7 separate regions of the Homo sapiens genome follow, and regions 1, 2, 4, 5, 6 and 7 are each linked to region 3. The links are contacts of gene promoters, found by promoter capture Hi-C in human tissues and cell types (Jung and others, 2019). All regions are on one chromosome and are shown on one strand. Each heading gives the region's core, a stretch centred on a gene start or on the middle of the fragment in contact. The rest is flanking DNA. Distances are from core to core; before and after follow the strand shown. Region 1 overlaps LOC105376126 (a long non-coding RNA gene). Region 2 has its middle 130 kb from the start of LINC02834. Region 3 holds the start of GAS1 (growth arrest specific 1). Region 4 overlaps LOC102724080 (a long non-coding RNA gene). Region 5 has its middle 160 kb from the start of LINC02834. Region 6 has its middle 140 kb from the start of LINC02834. Region 7 overlaps LOC102724080 (a long non-coding RNA gene).

Region 1 (3,401 bases), core at 270-2,769, 350 kb before region 3:
CTGAAATGTTTTCAATGTACTTTATTTTCTGTTTTTATAAGCTTTATATAACTTCAGAAAAACATAATCCAAGACATATCTTGGTTAGAATAATAACCAAGAGGTTATTATTCATGTATTTATTTATTTACTGTAACATGGAACACAGTGACCTGCAGAGTAGACACTGGGTGTGGCTGTGTGTAGAACTGTCTTTAGAGGATATTAACTAGAGGTGACATTCCAGGGCTTTGCACCTTGGTGACTTGGTTAGGCAGGTGGCAGGATGCAGATGCAGAAAATTAACATGTATGTGCCACCTACCCTTTTACATCCAAGGCAAAAAGGATGAAATAGTTTATTCTCTCCTTCCATTAGCCCCCATTTCCTTGTTTTTTAAATTAATAGTACTTTATTACATTCAATACAATGTATAAATCTTTAAGTGTTCAGCACAATGAATTTTGACATTAAATATAAACTATATATAATATATAAAAATATATATAAAATATATATAATATATTAAAATATATTAAATATAAAACACTTCCAGGCCTGGCACGGCGGCTCACGCCTATAGTCCCAGCACTTTGGGAGGCCAAGGCGAGTGGATCACTTGAGGTTGGGAGTTTGAGACCAGCCTGACCAACATGGAGAAACCCCATCTCTACTAAAAATACAAAATTAGCTGGGCATGGTGGCACATGCCTGTAATCCCAGTTACTGGGGGACTGAGGCAGGAGAATCACTTGAACCCGGGAGGCGGAGGTTGCTGTGAGCCAAGATCACTCCATTGCACTCCAACCCGGGCATGAAGAGTGAGACTCTGTGTCAAAACAAAAACAAACAAAACAACACTTCCATCATTCTAGCAAGTTAACTCATGCTTCTTTCCAGTCAAGTGCTGTTATACAACTGACTCCAAGTAACCACTGACCTGCTTTCAATCCCTATAGATTAGTTCTCTATGTTCAAGGACTTAATATAAATGGAATAATATTAATACATATATATTCTTTAGTTTATCCTTTATTCATTCAGCATTTTTTTGAAATTTATCTATTTTATTATGTATATCAATAGTCTCTCATTTTTTTTGCTCAGTACTATTCCATTGTATGGATATACCACAGTTTGTCTATCCATTTTCCTATTGATGGATACCTGGGCTGCTTCGAATTTTTGCTTATTGTGAGTAAAGCTGTTATGTATGTACAGGTGTTTTGTGAACATAGTACATTCATTTCTCTTGGTATATAGTCTAGGTGTGTGATTGCTAGGCCATAGAGTAGATGAATATTCCCATTTATCAGAGAGTGGCAATGGGTTTACAAAATGATTGTACAATTTTCAGCATCCAGCAGCAATGTGTGAGAGTTCTAGTTTCTCCACAGCCTTGCCAACACTCAGTAGAGTTGGTTTTCATTTTTAGCCATTCTGGTAAGTGTGGAGAGGTATCTCATTGTGGTTCTGCTTTGCATTTTTGTGGTGACTAATGATGTTGAGCACTCTTTCTTATGTTTATTGACCATTTTAGTATCTTTTTTTGGTGCGTAGTGGTATCTCACTGCTGTTTTGCTTTGCATTTTTATGGTGACTAATGATATTGAGTACTCTTTCATATGCTTATTGACCATTTGAATATCTTTTTTTGTAAAGTGTCTATTCAAATCTTTAACAATTTTGGGGGGTTATTTGTGTTTTTGATATTTCACTTCCCTTTGAAGAGTTAATTAATATGCTTTAATCTAGAGCCAACTGCATGCCTGGTATTTCAAATTTGGTATCTTACTTAATAAATACAACAAACGGTTGAAGTCAGTGTATCACTTCCATTTTACAGAATAGGAAACCAAGGTTCAACTGATTGAAAACCACCCTCGAAGTTGAAACTTTCTAACTGGAAGCATTGGGACTCTGGTATTCATTTTCACCAGTTTTGCCTGAGAATAAGGTGGAAGGAAGATATTACGGGAGAATATTCACTATCCTTGAAATCGATCTTGACTTTTTAAAAATAGTTTTTAAAAAATATAATTTTAATTTATATTTATATATTTACAGAAAAGTTGCTAATATGGTACAGAGTTTCTATGTATCCGTTGATTGTATTTATTTATTTAAATGGCTATATTGAGATATAATTCATTTACTTTACAATTCATTCATTTGCAATGTAGAATTCAATGATTTTTAGTATATTCACATATATGTGATGTGCAACCATCACTACCATCCATTTTAGAACATTTTCATCACCCTTTAATTATCACCTCTCCACACCCCCATAACTCCTCTCAGCCTAAGCAACCACTCATCTACTTCTGTCTCTGTAGATTAACCTGTTCTGGGTATTGCATATGAATTGAATCATATAATATGTTCTCTTTTGTAACTGGCTTCTTTCGGTCCTGGCTTTTTTCAACACTTGTGGCATAAGACTGCTTGTAGTCATCAAGATTCTTGTCCTGCTCTTCCTGGACACTCTGTTGACCACATTTCCAGTCCTTGTAGTTAGGTGTGGCACACGTGTCTGAGTTCGGGTGAATGCAGAGGTGATGTGAGTGTTGTTTCTAGGCCGGGTGCTTTGAAAATCAATCTGAATGAAACATCCTAACGCCCATCCTCACTTTCTTTTCTCTTACTTGGGTCCCTAAATGAAAGCAAAACTTTCTCTTGACCTCTATTGGACAAATGTTTATTATGTTAAATTAGCCTCTGAGATTTAGAAGTTGTCTATTACACAAACTAGTCTTATTTACCTTTCCTCCTAAAACATCTCTAAAAGCCCATATTGTGGAATACTTCTAATGTATCAAGAACTCTGATTGTGCATTGTCTTTTTTTATTAAGGTGTCTTAGGTTGTCCACTCATCCAAGACCAGAAATGAGGAAACTTGATTCCTTTAAGATAGTGCTCTTGGCCGGGCGTAGTGGCGGGCGCCTGTAGTCCCAGCTACTTGGGAGGCTGAGGCAGGAGAATAGCGTGAACCCGGGAGGCGGAGCTTGCAGTGAGCCGAGATCCCGCCACTGCACTCCAGCCTGGGCGACAGAGCGAGACTCCGTCTCAAAAAAAAAAAAAAAAAAAAAAAAAAGATAGTGCTCTTGGATAATCAGCACACATTTTTGTTACTTCCAAGCAGTCTTAAAAATAGATTTTGTTCCTAAGCTTATACATCATATTTAGCTGAAAAGAGTCAGAGAGAACATTCTTAAGGAATAAGTCACATATATCTGAGACATTTATCAACATCCTTATAACAAATTCTTCAAGCTTAAGACTGATTTCACCATCTTTGCTCCATAATCTCCCTGCACATTGGAGGCTCCGTAGGAAACGCAAGGAACAGAGCTATGTACATTGCAGGGCATTTTGTGAATTATAAAAATCTGCTCAGTTCTAAAGATCAAAACTTCTA
Region 2 (3,402 bases), core at 346-2,845, 370 kb after region 3:
TCCATCCCCAGCCCATGGAGATATCTGGGAGTGGTTTTGATTTTACTTTGCTGAGCCCCACAGCCCTCACTAGTCCAGGACATCAGCTTAGTTTCCACACTGTCACTGTGGTTTAAATCCACCTGCAAGCTGCCCCCTGCATGCTGCCCCCACTGTGGGCTTGAGGCTCTGATTTGTCAGGGTCGTTCTGTGAACTAAGGTCACACTGAGAGTGTCAGGCCTGGGTTTAGACTTTGTGCACCATATGAGAGAAAAGAAACATAGTTCAAGTGTTTCATGGGCTCAAGTCTCGTGGCTTCTTCCATTTACTCAATGGCTGATTTTGGGCAAGTTGTTTAACTTTTTTTTTTTGAGAAGGAGTCTTGCTCTGTCGCCCAGGCTGGAGTGCAGTGGCACCATCCCCGCTCACTGCAAGCTCCACCTCCCAGGTTCACGCCATTCTCCTGCCTCAGTCTCCCGAATAGCTGGGACTACAGGCTCCTGCCACCATACCTGGCTAATTTTTTGTATTTTTAGTAGAGGCAGGGTTTCACCGTGTTTGCCAGGATGGTCTCGATCTCCCGACCTCGTGATGTGCCCACGTTGGCCTCCCAACGTGCTGGGATTACAGGTGTGAGCCACCGTGCCCAGCCAAGTTGTTTGACTTCTATAAGCATCAACTTTCCCATCTTGAAATGGAAAGGGTAGAAACAGTACCAACCTCCTAGGATTTTTTGAAAGATGAAATGAAGAGTCTTGGCACAGAGTAAGTGCTCAATAAATGTTAGTGATGATTGTGGTTACCTTTGTATTGTTATTATGGTTAAGAATGTAATTTTTTTAAACTGTAATCTTAAATTCACGGGTACATGTGCAGGACGTGCAGTTTTTAACATAGGTAAGCGTGTGTCATGGGGGTTTGTTGTTGTACAGATTATTTCATCACCCAGGTACTAAGCCTAGTATCCATTAGTTATTTTTTCTGCTCCTCTCCCTCCTCCTACCCTCTGCCCTCCAGTGGGACCCAGTGTCTGTTGTTCCCCTCTATGTGTCCATGTGTTCTCATCATTTAGCTCCCACTTATAAGTGAGAACATGTGGTATTTGGTTTTCTGTTCCTGTGTTAGTTTGCTAAGGATAACGGCCTCCTGCTCCATCCATGTCTTTGCAAAGGACATAATCTTGTTCTTTTTATGGCTGCATAGTAATTCATGGTGTATATGTATCACATTTTCTTTATCCAGTCTGTCACTGATGGACATTCAGGTTGATTCCATGTCTTTGCTATTGTGAATAGCGCTGCAGTGAACATATGCGTGCATATGTCTTTATAATAGAATGATTTATATTCCTTTGGGTATATACCCAGTAATGGGATTGCTGAGTCAAATGATATTTCTGTCTTTAAGTCTTTGGGGAATCGCCACACAGTCTTTCACAATGGTTGAACTAATTTACACTCCCACCAACAGTGTAAAAGTGTCCCTTTTTCTCCACAACCTTGCTGGCATCTGTTATTTTTTTACTTTTTAACAATAGCCAAGGAATGTAAATATTAGTGAGGCACAAAAATTGGTGCACTGTATGCACATACAGAGCACAGTATACACCTAATAAATGTTAACTCTGTTGGTGGCTGATCATTTCAAATAACAAGAATGTTTCTATTCGACTCATTCATTTACTCTTTCAAAATGTGTATCTCTCACATGTAATTAATATAAAATATTGAAATATTTTATATGCTTTTCTTTTTCTCATTAAGGAAAAGAATATAAAATATTTCAAACTCTAGCACTTCTCAATTTAGATGCTAAATTTTCATCAGAAATACTTCATCTGCATTTATTTCATAAAATGTACAATTGAAAAAGTAAATGTATGTACTCAAGTTGTTCTAAAGATACTTAAAAGCTTCCCAATAATTGAAGCAGTTATCATTTTAAAATTTAAGTTTAAATAAATAAATAGAATTTGAAAACCAGGCTCAGTTGCACTAGTCACATTTCAAGTAATAGATATTTGATGGCACAGATGAAAAGTGTAGCTCCAAACACCCTGCCCCCAGTATTTAGCCCTTAAGTTGCACCGTCCATTTCTAGTCTAGTGCTGTGTTTCCTGTTCTTCCCTGAGTGCCACTCACTTACTCTGTATACAGTAAGGCCGGCCCTGTGGAAGATAAAGATGGAAGACAGATTAAAAAGAGGAGAGGTTGGCTGGGCTCAGTGGCTCACACCTGTAATCGCAGCACATTGGGAGGCCCAGGTGGGTGGATCGCTTGAGACCGGGAGTTAGAGACCAGCCCTGGGCATCATGGCAAAACCTTGTCTCTACAAAAAACACAAAAATTAGCCAGGCATGGTGACGTGCACCTGTAATCCCAGCTACTTGGGAGGCTGAGGTGGGAGAATCACTTGTGCCGGGAAGCGGAGATTGCAGTGAGCCGAGATTAATCGCCCCGCTGCACTCCAGCCTGGGCCACAGAGCGAAACTGTCTCAAAAAAAAAAAAAAAGGGGGGGGGGAGAGAGAGAGAGAAAAGGGATTTACAACCAATGCATTCCAAAGGAACAAAGCTAATTCATCACCTGAACTCTAGTGACATTTTCTCGACACTACATTCAGAAGTTCCACAGGAATCCCACCTGCACATGATTTGGGGGTGTTTCTGCACCTAGCTTTTCATATTTCATGGTGGTGGGGATGGAGCCTTGTGCTTCGTAAGTATTCAGCAAATGCGTATTGGATGAACAGCAGGGCAGAGACAGAAGGGAGAGGATGCTGGAGGAGGGGAGCCCCCAGGTAGCTCTGCTTAGATGACCGACCAGATTCTATCTCCTGCCCCACCCCACTGCCTTTGGTGGTGGTACAGAACTGGCACAGCCAGGACCTGGGCCTGGGCTGTTCTCAGGCATCAGTTTGAGGGGATGAAATAGAGCAGAGTATCCATCCCAGTAGAAATAATCCAGAGACTAAAAGGCCCGCCTGAAACAAGACACCAAAGCACAGACCTTTGAGAATTGCTGAGAGCACTTCCAGAAGCTTGAGAAACACTTAGAAATAAGTATACAGGAATAAATGCGGTTGCGCAAACTCAAATGATTCCAACACGGAGGAGATGACAGGAACTCCTTTTTAAAAAGTCCCCAGGAATCACACAAAGAGCTCTCAGACTACTTTCACTTTGAGAAGGTCATGTGCAAAGGTGAAAACGAAGATGCGTAAGTGTTGCCCACCTGTAGGAAGAAAGTCAGCAGAGCCAAAGCCCAAAACAAGCTTAGGGGAGGGGGAAAACGACGCTTAGCATATAAACAGGACGTTCTATTAGTTTCCTATGCTACTGTAACACATGACCACAAACCCAGTGGCTTAAAATAACACAGATTTATTATCTTACAGTTATGGAGGTCAGAAGTCCAAAATCAG
Region 3 (3,125 bases), core at 508-3,007:
AAGAGGGGATTTTTCAATTGTCTAATTGGCTTCGAACCTTACCTGTGGAGGGATCCCAGACACAGAGAAGGTGTCTGAGTTGTCCAAGTCCTCCAGGCCGGACTGAGAGGACAACTCCAAATAATAGAGAAAAAAAAAGAGACAGAGAGCCAGGGATATGGTTGTTTTGATGTGCCATGAAGTTGCAGCCTTTCTGGATTTTTTTAGTATCGATTTATATTGCTGTTTGTCTACCAATACTCAAATCAGAGCAAGACGGTCCGCCTTACCTCAGTCTGGCTCTTTTAAGGTTTGATTTTGGTTTTGGGGACTGCAGAGGTGCAGCTTCCCACGGCAGACCAAGCGCCTCTGAGGAACGCAGCAGCTTCAGCAGGTACAGGAAGATTTCCCGCAGCCGGAGGAATCTCCTAGTGCTGGGCCTCCGGCTGTGACTTTTGCCATTTCAAATTCACTTGGCCTCTAGGGAGAGGCAGACAGCCCGACGCTGAGCGCGTCGGAGCCCCGGCTCCCTCTGCTTCTGGAGAGGAGATTTAGCCTTAATTTTTGTGACAGATGGAGTTGATAGTCTCTCCACGGAAAGGGGAGGAAAAAAGCGCCAGTTTTTGACAGGCCGCAGACGCCCGCTGCCTCTGGTGGCGGAAGGCTGCGTTGCGCCCCAGTTAAGGTAGCTCGGAAACTCCCTCGCCGAGAAGGCAGAGGTTTCCTCTGCAGAGCAGCCTCCCTTAAATATACTGAGGGGCTGAAACTTACACTTTAATATAAACCTTTGGTGCGTGCCCATTTATTCCGTCTTCTGTCCTGTGACTGCGGCCAGGTGGTAATTGCTCGACATTCCTGAATATTTTTAATGCTAGTTAAATTTTTTCATTATTGCACGTGTTGCAAGCTTATCTTCCTAAGAAATTATTTCGGTTGATTGGATTTCGGTCTTGCAATTTGAAAACGATGCCTGGCGCACGGGCGGTACCTGCCAGATGGCCTAGCTGGGGCTGGGGGGTGGCGGGCGGGTTGTAAGCATCTCATCAACATCTCCCTAATAAAGTGTGTGCTTCTTTCTTGTATGCTTCTTTAAAACAGTTTCAGTCTCACATTTTATCTCTGGATTCTCCCCTTCCCCTCTGTGGTGATCAAGACCCAAAGACAGGGAGCCTGGAAGATAAACTGAGTTCTGAATCCAGTCGAAAGCACAGATGGGGGCCAGCGAGAATTAATAAAACTACAAAAAAAAAAAAAAAGAAAAAAAAAACAAACAAAAAAGGCCCGTGGCTGAGCCGGATGCAAACAGCTGCCCCTAAGCCCTGCCCGCTGGTTCTGTGCGCGAGCTGGGGCTGCATATCCGAGCCTCCTTAAGAGTAGGAGGAGCTCCGGGCCTCCGTCAGGCTCCCTAAGCCGTTCCTTTCAAGCCCTGAATGCCTGAATGTGAGCTGCCCACCACCCTCCCGCCCTCCCCCACTCCGCAACCCCACTCCAGCGGCTCGTAAAAAAAAAAAAAAAAACTTTCAACAACAACAGGCAGGACCAATAGCATCTCGAAAAGCCGGGAAAGGGGGCCGAGCAAAGGGCGAAAGAGAGTGGAGAAAGGAGAAAGCGGGCAGGCTCGGAGCGCGCGGGGCCGGGGCTCGGCGAGCCGGAGGAGCGTTGCTAATGTTTTTGTTTGTTTGCTTTTCCATGCATGCATAATGAGGGGGCACCGCGGCACCACGCGGGGGCTCCCGGCCCACTTTTGTATTTAAAGCCTCGCTGCTAACGAGTCTGCAGCCGGGCTCAGCGGATCCGCTCCCCGGGCTCTTGGTCACCCGAGAAGCTGCCGCCGAGTGAAGCCAGGGAGCCGCTCTCCGGCAGCGCCGACTTTCTTGTTCTCCCCGCGCTTCCCGGAAAGAGCTCCCCGGAGCTCTGCGGAGGCCGGGGTTGCCGCGGGCGGAGGGGGAGGGGACGCGGGGCGGCCGGGCCGCGGGAAGGCGGGCAGCGCGCGGACGCCGGGCCAGGAAGCGGCGCGATGCGAGAGACCGCGGCGGCGGTGGCGGCGGCGAGGCACTGAGCCCAGGAGGAAGGAGCCGCCGCGGCCGCAGCGCGAGCAGCCGGCACGGGGACAGCCGGCCGCACAACGGATCTGCAGGCGCGGAGCAAAATGCACCCGCCGCGCCGCGCGGTCCTGCAGCCCCGCCACGGCCCCGCGGCCCGCACCCCCCCGGGGCGACAGTGAGCCTCTCCCGCCACCACCGGGGGCCGAGCGGAGGGCTCTCGGGTGGGAGAGCGGGACCAGATCTCGACAGCTGTTCATTTCCAGGAAGCCACCGCAGCCAGAGCGAAAGGGGACCTTCTGCCACCAGCGGGGCATCAGCCAGCGGCGCGCATGGATTTATGAAGACACTCATGCAAGAAGTGGGCAGGACTTGGACAAACTTTTCCACCGGCTCCGCGTCCGCCGCTCCCCGCGCCTCGTCTCCTTTCCCCTCCTCTCCCGGCGGCCGCCGCTGCCCGCGATGGTGGCCGCGCTGCTGGGCGGCGGCGGCGAGGCCCGCGGGGGGACAGTGCCGGGCGCCTGGCTGTGCCTGATGGCGCTGCTGCAGCTGCTGGGCTCGGCGCCGCGGGGATCGGGGCTGGCGCACGGCCGCCGCCTCATCTGCTGGCAGGCGCTGCTGCAGTGCCAGGGGGAGCCGGAGTGCAGCTACGCCTACAACCAGTACGCCGAGGCGTGCGCGCCGGTGCTGGCGCAGCACGGCGGGGGCGACGCGCCCGGGGCCGCCGCCGCCGCTTTCCCGGCCTCGGCCGCCTCTTTCTCGTCGCGCTGGCGCTGCCCGAGTCACTGCATCTCGGCCCTCATTCAGCTCAACCACACGCGCCGCGGGCCCGCCCTGGAGGACTGTGACTGCGCGCAGGACGAGAACTGCAAGTCCACCAAGCGCGCCATTGAGCCGTGCCTGCCCCGGACGAGCGGCGGCGGCGCGGGCGGCCCCGGCGCGGGCGGGGTCATGGGCTGCACCGAGGCCCGGCGGCGCTGCGACCGCGACAGCCGCTGCAACCTGGCGCTGAGCCGCTACCTGACCTACTGCGGCAAAGTCTTCAACGGGCTGCGCTGCACGGACGAATGCCGCACCGTCATTGAGGACATGCTGGCTATGCCC
Region 4 (3,140 bases), core at 132-2,631, 420 kb after region 3:
TATTTAACAAAAGTTTAAGCAAAAGAGAAAAAGGCAAATAACAATGAGGTAAGAATTGAAATTGCTTAAATGCTCATTCAGACGGGAGATTCGGGCAACCTCCAGGCCCACCAGCAAGAAGTGAGTCAGGTTTGAAGTTAGAAGAATTGATGTGAATCCCCTGGTTGCCATGGTTTGCAAATAACTTTTCTTCAGGCAAATCATAAATGATTTACAACCTCTAGTAGGCTTGTCCTTGATCAAAATCATCAAGAAGGTAAATATTGTCTTTGGGGAAATTTTCTCATTTCTTTTCTAATATTGTTTCATTCATTCATTCATTCATGAAGCATTTATTGAGTTCTTGCTGGGAGCCAGGCAGCCTGTTCGATTCTACAAAAGTAAAACTGACAGAGATCTAATCAAGTAGGAGAGATGAGGCCTCATGGTTTCATAATAGAAGCAGCAGCTCCGTTTCTGACACGCTCCCCATGTGCTATTAATTATCCCATTACTATGCACAAATACCCCACACTGCAGGCTCTCATTCTTTTAACTGTGCAAATGAGGGTGCTCAGGAATTTACCCAACATCTTGTCTCCAGGGACCAGCTTTCATCTGCTCTGCTCTTCCCCAGCACTGTTTTGTACGAATGTAACATGAGCCATGAGTATAATTTTAAATTTTCTAGCAACCACATTTAAAAAGAGATAAAAAGAAAGAGGGAAAAGTAATTTTGATTATATATTTTATTTAACTCCATATAACTCAAAATTTCATACTTATCCACACATTTACACATACATGTATATAAATATGCACACATATTTACACCTATAAGTCCAAATATGTACGTATATAAATATGCACATATTTGCACATATTTACACATGTTTACACCTTTTTTTCCATAAACCGTGGTCAACAATTCATATTTATCCACACATTTATACATACATGTATATAAATATGCACACATATTTACATTTGTAGATACGTATGCACCTGTGTAACTCAAACAAAGGTTTCACAGAACTGACTCTTACAGAATGTGACACACTCAGGTATCTTCTATTAAATTCTCTTCTAGAATACTCCTTTGATGCTGGCTGTGATCCAGCAACTTGATTTCACAGCCACTCTGGGTTGGAACTCGCAGAGGCTGCTGGGCGGGACATGTGCTATGTGAAGCTCCAATACCCATGTCCCTCTTTTCTGGCAACACCACGCCCATTTCCTTGGTGCAAGTGTGTCAGTGAAGCTGACCCACCTCTGGTTCCAGGACAAAGCCAATAACTCCCACATGGCCCACCAGAGCCTTGTATCTGGAAGCCACCTCGACTGACTCAAGGACGTGCGCATGGCCAATCACAGCTTATCTCACAATTTTTACTTTAGTGATCAGGGTAAAGAAAAAAACTTATACTATATTTGGGAGAAGACAGGAGCAGAGGGCCTGCTGAAAGCAGGAAAACAGAGAAGACAAAGTTTTGAAAGTATTGCTTAATACCTGGATCAAGCCATGCCTGAAACTCCATCTAATTTAAAAGTCGTACTTTTAAATTATATGAGCCAATAGATTACCCTTTTTTTCCTAAGCTTAGTTGAGTTGGGGTTTCTGTCAATTTAAACCAAAAGAAGCTGATTGAAAAAATCCTCATACGTGTCTCGCAGATGCTCAGTGCCTTTTTATTGCCTGATTTGGGAAAGCTCCAGGCATTTTTCTTCCCAGCAATTCTGTGTCCTTTACAATTGTCCTTTGCTTTTCTCTTTAATTCAGGATCCTTTCTTTATGCATTCTTTTCACCATAGTATGACTGTCTCATAACAGTCTTAACTGGGCTACTTCTTCTTGGGAAATTTGCATTTTTAAACTCACCAGTCAAACGAGTTATCTGTCTAAGAATAGAATTTCAGCATTGTGGTACAGGCAGGTAGGGAAAATATTTGGGAACAAAGATTCACCTGGTGCCTGCTCTGAAAAATTGTAAGCCTAGTTCTGTGGCCAGGGGCTGGTATTTTTCAAGTAAAGGTCACACTTTTGTTGTTGTTGTTGTTGTTGTTGTTGTCGTTGTTGTTGTTGTTGTTGCTAAGTGATGAGTTCTTTCCTGAAACTCTACATTTTCCTCCGGGCTTGTGACTCTTCAAAAATCTCTACCTTAATTTGAACAGGGTACCCAAATAGGTATATCCTGTGAAAAGGAAAATATGAAGCTTCAAAAATAAATGGCCTGCCAAGATTTCAGAGCTGCAAAAGGTTGTGCCTAGAACTGTCAAATGTCAAAAATAATTACCAGGTAGAATGTGACTCATACACCCAGCAGGCATGATCAAAACTAATCCTTCCTGCCTTCATCTGTCTGGACAAAGTTAGGTAGGAAACCTGCCTAGCCCAGCGCCTTCAGGCCCCATAGATTTGGAGAGGGATAGCCCTCAACCTCATATTGGAACATTCTCTTTAGCTTCTAGGGGTGATTTTATATACTCACTAGCTAGTTGCTGTTTTGACTTGTGTATCTGTTCTTATAAACATATAACTTTTCATAAATGCACAGATTATATTTACTAGGATGTTTTAGCCTTTTATTGTACAAGAAAACATACTACAAATGCAAAAAAACTATATCAAAAATGGAAATCTTGAAGAATTATTATAACTACCATGCAGATCAAGAAACAAAATTGTGCAGCCACCCCAGATATCCGTGTTTTATGCCCCATCCCAGACACTATCCCTCTCTCCTTCAAAAAATTATCACTACTGGGACTTTTTTTGTTGTTGTTGTTGTTTTGAGATGGAGTTTTGCTCTTGTTGCCCAGACTGGAGTGCAATGGCATGATCTCAGCTCACTGCAACCTCCGCCTCCAGGGCTCAAGCGATTCTCCTGCCTCAGCCTCCCAAGTAGCTGGGATTACAGGCACGCACCACCACCACCACGACTGGCTAATTTTGTCTTTTTATTAGAGACGGGGTTTCTCCATGTTGATCATGGCTGGTCTCGAACTCCCGACCTCAGTTGATCGGCCTGCCTCAGCCTCCCAAAGTGCTAGGATTACAGGCGTGAGCCACCATGCCCAGCCCGGGACTTTTATAATATCTTTTTGTGTGTTTCTTTGACATCTTATCGCTCACGTATGAATCCTTAGACACTACCGCTTGG
Region 5 (3,292 bases), core at 152-2,651, 400 kb after region 3:
GAAGAATGAATAATTTTTAGTCCCAAATATTATGAGACATACTTACACTAAAACAATTATTTATTTTTAATTTGAAATTCAAATTTAACTTGGCATCCTGTACTTTATCTGGCAACAATATTTGTAGGGAAATTGGCATTTCACAATTGGGCTGTGGCCCCATCTTAATTCCTGAGCCTGAAGACATGTTTCTCTACTGGGAAAGTTTCATTTAACAGTCTCTGAAAGGAAAACTCTTGAGCAATTAGAGAAGAATAGGATGCCTGCCTTGTCAACAAGATTGGCTCTCTCATCCCCCGCAGCAAGTGGGGTCATGGCCACATCCTCCTATCCATCCTTCGTTCCATTTATGAAAGCTAGCTATGTAAAACATATTGCTTTACTCTACAGATGAGTTCCTGAATGGAGTATAAGTGAAATCACATCTTTACTAGAATAGGAGAACATCTTTACTTAAAACAACCATGGAAATAAACACCACACACACATACAAAATCCCATCCTCTCTTACCACAAAAGACCACTCTCTAATTCAAACTATATTGCATTTCCATCACAGTTTTCCTGAAACTGGGAGATACACACAGATATATATAAAATCTTGATCATAGCCTGGCATAAAAGACCACAAGTATTTTTAACTGTTTTCAATGAAAAAAAAAAAATCTGCATTCCCTCCTCACAGCTCACTTCCATTAAGCATTCCAGTACCACCTGCTTCTGTTTAAGCAAAGAGTTGCCCAACGTTTTTTCCCCAAATTGCGTTCAATTTAATTATGGCTTTTGTTTTAACCCACACCACTTGGTGATTAAGGCAATAGCCAAAACCAAAAAGAACCCCAGAAACTGAAATAAAAGTTTGTTTCAAACACTTTGAGAAGTTATCTTCATTTCCATATATTCCTTGTCCCTGCAATACAGCCAACAGTGACATTAAAAACTCTCCAGGGAAAATATCCCTGTTATAACCATTTAGAGATAAGTTACTACCATGCGTTCTCTTGGGAAACCTGAAAGGATTCTCTAAGGTTTCTAGATACTTTAAGTCAGGGTCTGGCTCTTCTTGGTTATTTATGAATTACATCAGAACCACATAAAATTTCATGGCAAAGACACAGTGGAAATGCCTTTATGCATGCAGCTGGTTAATGTGCATGGATTATTCATGAAGCACCACCAACCCAAGCTAGTCTAAAGGAAACAACAGGACAAAGGGCTCAGCAACCAGCCTGACTCACTGGAAATCTGATCGGATGAAGTTAGTGTAGTCATCAGAACTGAGGCCACCATCAGATCTGATTTCCGATGAGTTTCAGCTGAATCTAAGCAGCAAATGGGAAGCAGCTGTCATTGCTGATGCTACAGGGATGGGAACCTGGGCCTCTCTGTTCAGAGATCCAGCCCTCCAAGATCTACAAGTCTTAGGGATTAAAGGACACTCAGTAATATACCCTGAAAAATTCATGGGTATGAGCTCAGCTGCATGACTCTTAATGAACAGCCAGCTCATTTTTTGAAGGGGCAAAGACTGGGAACAAGGCCATGTAAGCATGTGTAAAGAAGCATCCCAACAGAACCTAAAAGACATAAGAGCTTTCTCCAGGGAATGGTGCAAAGCTAAGCATCAAGGACAGAATGTGGCCTCTGGGTTTCTGCCTTATTTAAAATCCAAGCTAGTTTTTTGTGTTCTCTTTTTGTAGAAGGAGATTGAAATATGCTGAGAGCATAATGAACTTTATCAGAGGAAGGCACAGATGCAGTACACAAATGTTCCTTGACTTATGATGGGGTTACATCCCGATAAACCCAGCATAAATTGAAAACGTCATGAACTGAAAATGCTTTTAATACACCTAACCTACCGATCATCAGAGCTAGCCTACCTTAAATGCATTCAGAACACTTACATTAGCCTATAGTTGGGCAAAATCTTCTAGCACAAAGCCTACTTTAAAACAAAGTGTTCAGCCTCTCATGTAATTTATTGAACACCATACTGAAAGTGAAAAACTTCCAGTATTGGTATCTGAAGTAGGGTTTCTACTGGATGTATATTGTTTTCACACCACTGTAAAGTCAAAAAATTGTAAGCAGAACCATCGTAAGTCGGGGAACATCTGTACTCCTGCGGCCATAAAGAAGAATGAGGAGGTTCAGATCGGGCTCCAAAACTTCAGAAAGGTTCAGATCGGTGCTTAAAAGCCAACCTTCAAGCCAGTGTCCAATATGGATGAAGCCACTGAATGCTAACACATATGGTAATGGTTCCGCGTTCTCATAGCTAGAAGCTAGAGGTAAAGAATTATCTTGGAAGAAAGGAAATAGAATAAGATACAGAGCTAAAGAAGATAAGAACAAGAAAGAGATAAGAGGATAATCCCCAATGGAGAGTGGTGAGTGATGCAAAATCACCCACGTGTTTCTCATGGGAATGTGTCATTGGCACGTGGAGCACCATCTGTGTTGGGCATAAGGATGCCCCAACCAGGCCCCCTTTACAGAATGAATCTCAGCCATTGGGAGTGCTACTGGCATAAATCTTCACTGTCAGCCCCTTCCTAGGACTGCCTCAGCTGCAGATAGCCACTTTGTCTGAGGTTATGCCCCTTCCTGGGGCAGCCCATATCTGATTGCTGTTCTATCTTAGCCCAAGTCGGGCCAACTCTGAAGAGCCATCCTAGCTCCAGAGCTGCCATGAAGTCAACTAAGACAGCCATCGGCCTGTATTCTGCCTACTACTGATTCCTCTTCCTTTCTATGACATTTCCCTTCCAAGGGACACTCCTAGATAAACTTCCCACACACCAAACTCCATCACAAAAATCCACATCCTAGGAAACTCAACCTGCAACACCATCTTCATCTGAGATTTCCTTGACAACTTTCTAGGGCAAACTTGCTAAATCTCCAGCTGCATCAATGGGTGATGCTTGGACAATGCATTTCTCATGCCCCAAAATCACTCACAGGAAGCTTGGATCATCAGCTTATTGGAGCATTTGACTTGAGAACATGTGTTTCTTGGATAAGAGAGTCATTGTCATTGGAGAAACTGTTACCAAAAAAAGAGGAGCAGCATAGAGGGCCAGCTGAAATCAGTTTGGCAAGGGGGAACATTGTTTGGTTTTTGGTTTTGTTTGTTTGTGTGTTTTCAGCTGTGTGAATCATTCTGGCCATAGAGACCTGACTTAATAATAGTGATCCACCATAGATCCCTTTAATTAAAAGCCAGGAAGAAAGGAATACTAATATACTATTCCAATTTTGTTTGACATGCATCACTGTCTCCACT
Region 6 (3,402 bases), core at 12-2,511, 380 kb after region 3:
GACTCTGTGTCCCCACTCAAATCTCATCTTGAATTGTAATCCCTGTACTCCCCATGTGTCAAGGCAGAGACCAGGTGGAGGTAATTGAATCATGGGGACAGTTTCCCCCAAGCTGTTCTCATGATAGTGAGTGAGTTCTCACAAGATCTCATGGTTTTATATGGAGCTCTTTCCCCTTCACTCAGCACTTCTCCTTCCTGCCGTCTTGTGAAGAAGGTGCCTTGCTTCCCCTTTGTCTTCTGCCGTAATTGTAAGTGTCCAGAGGCCTCCCCAGCTATGCTGAACTGTGAGTCAATTAAACCTCCTTCCTTTATAAATTACCCAGTCTCGAGCAGTTCTGTATAGCAGTATGAAAACAGGCTAATATAGTAAATACAGTAAATTGGTACCAAGGTAGTGGGCCACTGCTATAAAGATACCTGAAAATATGGGAGCAACTTTGGAACTGGATAACAGGCAGAGGTTGGAACAGTTTGGAGGACTCAGAAGAAGACAGAAAAATGTGGAAAAGTTTGCAACTTCATAGAGACTTGTTGAATGGCTTTGACCAAGTGGACAATGAACTCCAGGCTGAGGTGGTCTCAGATGGAGACAAGAAACTTATGGGGAACTGGAGCAAAGTTGACTCTCACTATGCTTTAGCAAAGAGAGGGGACTGTACCCTACAAAGCCCAGGGGCGGAGCTTCCCAAGGCCGTGGGAACCCACTTCTTGCATCAGCATGCCCTGGATGTGAGACATGGAGTCAAAGGAGATCATTTTGTAGCTTTAATATTTGACTGCCCATCTGGGTTTTGGACTTGCATTGGGCCTGTAGCCTCTTTGTTTTGGCCAATTTATCCCATTTGGAGTGGGTGTATTTACCAATGCCTGTACCCCCATTGTATCTAGGAAGTAACTAACGTGCTTTTGATTTTACAGATTCATAGGCAAAAGGGACTTGCCATGTCTCAGATGAAACTTTGGGCTTGGACTTTTGGGTTAATGCTGGAAAAAATTAAGACTTTGGGGGACTGTTGGGAAGGCATGATAGGTTCTGACATGTGAAAGGGACATGAGATTTGGGAGGTGTCAGGAGTGAAATGATATGGTTAGGCTTCATTTCCCCACCCAAATCTCATCTTGAATTGCAATCCCCATAATCCCCACATGTCAATGGAGAGACGAGGTGGAGTAATTGCATCATGAGAGTGGTTTCTCCCATGCTATTCTCATGATAACGTGTGAGTTCTCATGAGATCTGATGGTTTTATAAGGGGCTCTTCCCCTTTCACTCAGCACTTCTCCTTCCTGCCACCTTGTGAAGAAGATTCTTTACTTCCCCTTTGCCTTCTGCCATAATTCTAAGTATCCTGAGGCCTCCCCAGCCATGCTGAACTGTGAGTCAATTAAACCTCTGTCCTTTATAAATTACCCAGTCTCAGGCAGTTCTTTACAGCAGTATGAAAATGGACTAATACAGAGGTTCCTCAAAAAACTAAATGTAGAATTGCCATATGATACAATAACTCCACTTCTAGATATATAGCTAAAAGAATTGAAATCTGTATGTTGAAGAGCTATCTGCACTCCCAGTTCATTTCAGCATTATTTACAATAGTCAAGATATGGAAGCAACCCAAGTGTTCATCAATGGATAAAGAAACTGTTTTGTCTATACACAATGGAATACTATAAAGCCTTTAAAAAGAAAGAGGCCGGGCGTGGTGGCTCACGCCTGTAATCCCAGCACTTTGGGAGGCCGAGGTGGGTGGATCATGAGGTCAGGAGATCGAGACCATCCTGGCTAACACAGTGAAACCCCGTCTCTACTAAAAATACAAAAAATTAGCCGGAAGCGGTGGCGGGCTCCTGTAGTCCCAGCTACTTGAGAGGCTGAGGCAGGAGAATGGCGTGAACCCAGGAGGCGGAGCTTGCAGTGAGCCGAGATCGCGCCACTGCACTCCAGCCTGGGCGACAGAGCCAGACGCTGTCTCAAAAAAAAAATAAAATAAAATAAAATAAAATAAAAAGAAAGAAATTCTGTCATTCTTGACAATGCAGATGGAACGGGAGGACATTAGGCTAAGCCAGGCACAGAAAGACATATACAGTATGATCCCTTTTATATATGGGATCTAAAAAAGTCCATGTCATAGAAAGAGAGAGCGGAAAGGTAGTTACCAGAGATCGACAGAGGGGGAAGAATGAGGAAAAAGAAAATGTTGATCAAAGAATGCAAAATGTCAGTACTGGAAAAATAAGTTTTAGTCATCTATTGCACTACATGGTGACCACAGCTGATAATAATGTATTATATATCATAAAATTGCTTAAAAATGGATTTTTAACGTTCTCCCCACAAAAAAAAGAGAGTTGGTAAGGTGAGGGATATCAGGTTAATCATCCGTATTGAATCTTTCTGCAATGTGTAAAATATCACATTGTACCCCATAAAAATACACCATTATTATTTGTCAATTAAAAACAAAATAAAGTAAGGTGAGTCTTGTAGACAGAAAAAAATTGAAATATTTTGGGACTGGGTTTGTTGCAAATTGATCCTGTGTTCCTTTTAGGACCCATGAATGAATGAATGAATGAACAAATGAATGAATGAATGAACGAACGAACAAATAGATGATACAGGACATCAGGAGAAGACCTGGAGAGAACAAATCCCCAAGAAGTCCTTGCTGTGCCCTCTAAACTGGGAAATATTACCAACTGTGTGCAACTGGTTATTTCACTTGAGTTTTGATATTGAACCAAAAGGTTTGCGTTTTCATTCCTCTTCATTCTTATTTTTTTTTACTTTTTCTCATCTTTTTAAAGAATTTTCTGGCAAAGTCCAGCCCTTCCAGTCAAGCCTAGATTTGGCTGGGGAGTTGCTCACAGACAGAAAAAGAGACCACACAGAGGCACCGATACAGGATTAACATTTGGCTCTCCTCTTCTCTTACGTCTTTTTTTTTTCTTTTCTGTTTAAGCTCATAGATGATTTCAGCTCTCACTAGAATCTTCACTGAAAGTCAGTACAGTTACACATATGGTGAAGCTCAAAGCAGCCAGTTTTGCCATTTGTTCACACTCCTTAGAAAAAGACTAACATGACCTCCCTCATCTCACCGTATGGAGAGCTGCCTCACACGCATCACCCATGGCTCCCAATGCAGTACCGTGCACATTTTATCCCTGAGATGACACCTATGAGGTAGCATGTCATCTCTTTTTATCTAGGGCACAGATTCTAAAGGTTTCATGAAACTGAGACCAAGATACCATGGCTAATCCAGCTCCACTAGAGAGTACAACACTCACTTTCTCCTCTGAGGCCAATTTTCCTCATAAAACCAAATGAAGCCTCATAAAATAATTTCCTCCGGTGACAAAAAAGTAGCATCACCATAACACACACATAAAT
Region 7 (3,021 bases), core at 145-2,644, 430 kb after region 3:
CAGCACCGAGCATAGTACCTGACACATAGTAAACATTCAAAAAAGTATTTTATAGCAGTGTTAAAACATGATGAACTTGGACTTCATGTAGCCGTTCTGAAACTGTTTTCCATGATGCTTTTAATCAGTGACAAACTGGACTGCCAAGTGAAAAAATACACAAAAGAAGCTTGGAATTTCTTTCAAAATATACTCCCTTTCTCTACTCGCTCTGGGAGTTGGGAGGTGGGTGCAAAATCATTAAAAGATAAGTTTTCTGGCATGAAACCAGAAACAGTTGAAAAGGTGCTATTGTACAGCTGTCAGCTCAAGGAACTGTGCTGCAGAACTAATAAGAAAGATATGGGAAACCCGTGATTTAATCAGCTGCGGACTCATTACTCAACGGTACCTGCAGGGAGAAGCATCCATCAGGGTGTCAGGTATATGTTGCATAAAGAGAGGGGAGATTTAGCAACTGGGCAAAAGTTAAAGGTGGGAGCTGTCATTTACCCACATACTTCTCACTGGTAGAAACTTCATGCTGGACCACTTCACCTCCCTTGAAAATAAAGAAGTAGTTCCACCAGGGCCACCCAAAGCATTTCACGGAGGACTGACTTATACTGCCTATATACTCTCTTTTCACCCTCTGGCCACAAAACTCATTGTATAACAGTCAGATGCCTTACACTCCAAGAAACTGATTTTACATTCACCTATTAATGTAGCAGCCCTTCCAAACTGGAGGGCAGGGAACACATGTCCATGGCTGCCTGACAGAGACCTTCAATGCAAAGGTGGGTGCATGAGAATGAGGGGGTCACTGATGGAGAAAGGAAACTAGAAGCATCTCAAAGCAGCCACCCTCCAATACTAACCAATCCTTACTGCCATCTCTAGGACACAAACAAGGTAGGAAGGATGAAAAGAAAGGTGAAATCACTAAACTGGCTTCTGGTAGTATGTTCTTGACCTTGTAAAGTAGTGGACTGAAATAGCATAAAAATGGAGCTCCTTGCATCTAATTGGTGAAACCAGGCTGTATGCCCTCATGTGCCCTCTGCCTGGAAAGAACACACCCATACCATCAGGGCAGGCTGCACACCAAGCAACCCTGGGCTTCCTTTTTCATTTTTGATACTTCCCGTTCTTTCCTTCCCAGCTAGGTTGCAAGTCTGTGCTATGTCTCTCTTTTGCATCTCCATTATCATGGAAGAGTCTTGAATAAGCTAAAGATGATTCAGAAATTATTAGTCCTTTCTGAGCAGTTAATTGAACATGTCGGACCACACCATAGAGACCAACCAAAACAGGAATTTACCCTCTTTTTAAAGACATCCAAAGAACAAAATTCTACATATTTTATTCTCTAATCCAATCCAAAATCTTGCATAGAAAAATCAAACTTACAAAATTTTATCACACAAGGAGAGGGATATGCAAGGGGGAAACTAAATATTGGCAAAGAATGTAATAAAAAGTCTGGGCACGATGGCTCACGCCTGTAATCCCAGCACTTTGGGAGGCCGAGGCAGGTGGATCACGAGGTCAGGGGTTCAAGACCAGCCTGGCCAACATGATGAAACCCCGTCTCTACTAAAAATACCAAAATTAGCCAAGTGTGGTAGTGCACACCTGTAATCCCAGCTGCTCAGGAGGCTGAGGCAGGAGAATTGCTTGAAACCTGGAGGCGGAGGTTGCACTGAGCCAAGATCGTGCCACTGCACTCCAGCCTGGGCAACAGAGCAAGACTCCATCTCAAAAAAAAAAAAAAAGGAATGTAATAAAAATTGACACCCCTTTCCCCAAGAAATCAAGGCTTAGGTTGGTCTCCCTTTACAGATAGAGCCAGCTACAAACTATGGAGCTCAAAGAGGAATGAAATACCAGGGGCAGAGCTGCGACTGGCATGGGAAAGTCAGTTGGGTAGGCCCAAGGCTCTTGCTACTAAATAACTCCCTGTCCCTTCTACCTGAAACCTCAGATCATTTATCTTGCCAGGCCACTGGTGTCTTTCCTACAAAACAATGTACAGACACCCCAGGAAAGTTCCCTTCTGCCAACATTATCTCTTGCTAGACATAAACACCTACTTTCAAAGCTTGAAATTTATTAGCACCCAAATGATGTTTATTACCCTGCAGCTTGTGATCCTGTCATGGATTGTATCAGCCAAGGAGACTGGATTAACTCACATACCTAGGCATTTATGGCTCTGAAGTGAGCCAGTGTTCAAAAAGCGTCCTGAGGACAGATGGAGTTGCTTGACCCACAGGTGGATGAGCTTCGCTGGAGCAGGAAGGCCCTGGTCCTGGCTGAAAGAACACCTAAGACCAAGGAGAGAATGCAAAATGATGAAGCAGGAGCCTGCACCACAACCAGCAGCCAATCAGAGAGGAAAAGGAACCAAATGCTGGGCAATCAAATGCAAGAAAAAAAGCAGTGAGATTTTTCATTGAAATAAAAATGCAAAAAAAAAAACAAAAAATCAGTGTCACTGGAATTTATTTCTAAAGGAACTTTCTGAGTAATCTATGTACAAATATAAGAGGAATTAATTTTTTAAATTGTGAGGTTTAAAAAGCATCTTTTAATACTAGAGATGTGTACGTTTTTGTAAAGCAATTTCAACATCTGCAGACGTAACCAGAACACTTCAAGAGAAAATGAAAATTTAAATAAACACTGAAGGTTATTCAGTGGGTTAGGAATTCAGGGAAAGAGAAAGAAGCAGAGAGCCCAGTGAAATTTATCTAAATTCTAAAACTCCCAAAATGTAGGTGGGAAAAAATACCAATCATTGTATTCTTTTGTTATTTTCTGTGGTAGTTCTTATTTTTTGTTAACTATTATTTGTTGTTATAAGGAAAATACAATGTGACAGTGGCAAACAAGGCATTTATACGATAAGCTCTGGCCTTTGTCTTTGGGTGCTATCTCTGAAACAGGAATAACTATGCTGGGTGTCTGTTGGAAGGCAGTTTGAAAGGGAGACTTCTAGATTTGTCTCCCTAAGTGATGTGTGTGTCCAAGTCCCGT

What was found. Contacts are between HindIII fragments. The study calls those that stand out against the background at their distance.
Region 1: a contact is called between a fragment that was not itself captured here and the fragment with the promoter of GAS1 in region 3, in 2 of the 25 tissues and cell types used here (IMR-90 fibroblasts and dorsolateral prefrontal cortex).
Region 2: a contact is called between a fragment that was not itself captured here and the fragment with the promoter of GAS1 in region 3, in 2 of the 25 tissues and cell types used here (IMR-90 fibroblasts and aorta).
Region 4: a fragment that was not itself captured here is called in contact with the fragment with the promoter of GAS1 in region 3 in 1 of the 25 tissues and cell types used here (adrenal gland).
Region 5: a fragment that was not itself captured here is called in contact with the fragment with the promoter of GAS1 in region 3 in 2 of the 25 tissues and cell types used here (IMR-90 fibroblasts and dorsolateral prefrontal cortex).
Region 6: a fragment that was not itself captured here is called in contact with the fragment with the promoter of GAS1 in region 3 in 1 of the 25 tissues and cell types used here (IMR-90 fibroblasts).
Region 7: a contact is called between a fragment that was not itself captured here and the fragment with the promoter of GAS1 in region 3, in 2 of the 25 tissues and cell types used here (H1 embryonic stem cells and bladder).

What each region holds. Positions count from the first base shown.
Region 1 is chr9:87,290,734-87,294,134 of GRCh38, reverse strand. The region is part of intron 1 of LOC105376126 (a long non-coding RNA gene); the gene reads left to right. Among named protein-coding and RNA genes, the nearest start is that of LINC02872, 140 kb to the right of the region's middle. The HindIII fragment of the contact is 3,370 bases long and covers 1-3,204 here.
Region 2 is chr9:86,580,504-86,583,905 of GRCh38, reverse strand. No RefSeq gene overlaps it. Among named protein-coding and RNA genes, the nearest start is that of LINC02834, 130 kb to the left of the region's middle. The HindIII fragment of the contact is 5,159 bases long and covers 1-3,402 here.
Region 3 is chr9:86,946,138-86,949,262 of GRCh38, reverse strand. GAS1 (growth arrest specific 1) reads left to right here and starts at 1,757. Exons shown (of 1, transcript NM_002048.3): 1 at 1,757-3,125. The coding sequence starts at 2,484. GAS1RR (GAS1 adjacent regulatory RNA) reads right to left here and starts at 565. Exons shown (of 7, transcript NR_049794.1): 1 at 270-565. RefSeq lists silencers at 2,547-2,626, 2,697-2,766. The HindIII fragment of the contact is 5,107 bases long and covers 439-3,125 here.
Region 4 is chr9:86,528,854-86,531,993 of GRCh38, reverse strand. LOC102724080 (a long non-coding RNA gene) reads right to left here. Exons shown (of 2, transcript XR_007061636.1): 2 at 714-2,171. Among named protein-coding and RNA genes, the nearest start is that of TUT7, 180 kb to the right of the region's middle. The HindIII fragment of the contact is 5,489 bases long and covers 1-3,140 here.
Region 5 is chr9:86,547,547-86,550,838 of GRCh38, reverse strand. No RefSeq gene overlaps it. Among named protein-coding and RNA genes, the nearest start is that of LINC02834, 160 kb to the left of the region's middle. The HindIII fragment of the contact is 5,141 bases long and covers 1-3,292 here.
Region 6 is chr9:86,563,672-86,567,073 of GRCh38, reverse strand. No RefSeq gene overlaps it. Among named protein-coding and RNA genes, the nearest start is that of LINC02834, 140 kb to the left of the region's middle. The HindIII fragment of the contact is 5,641 bases long and covers 1-3,402 here.
Region 7 is chr9:86,512,741-86,515,761 of GRCh38, reverse strand. All of the region lies in intron 1 of LOC102724080 (a long non-coding RNA gene), which reads right to left. Among named protein-coding and RNA genes, the nearest start is that of TUT7, 160 kb to the right of the region's middle. The HindIII fragment of the contact is 4,230 bases long and covers 1-3,021 here.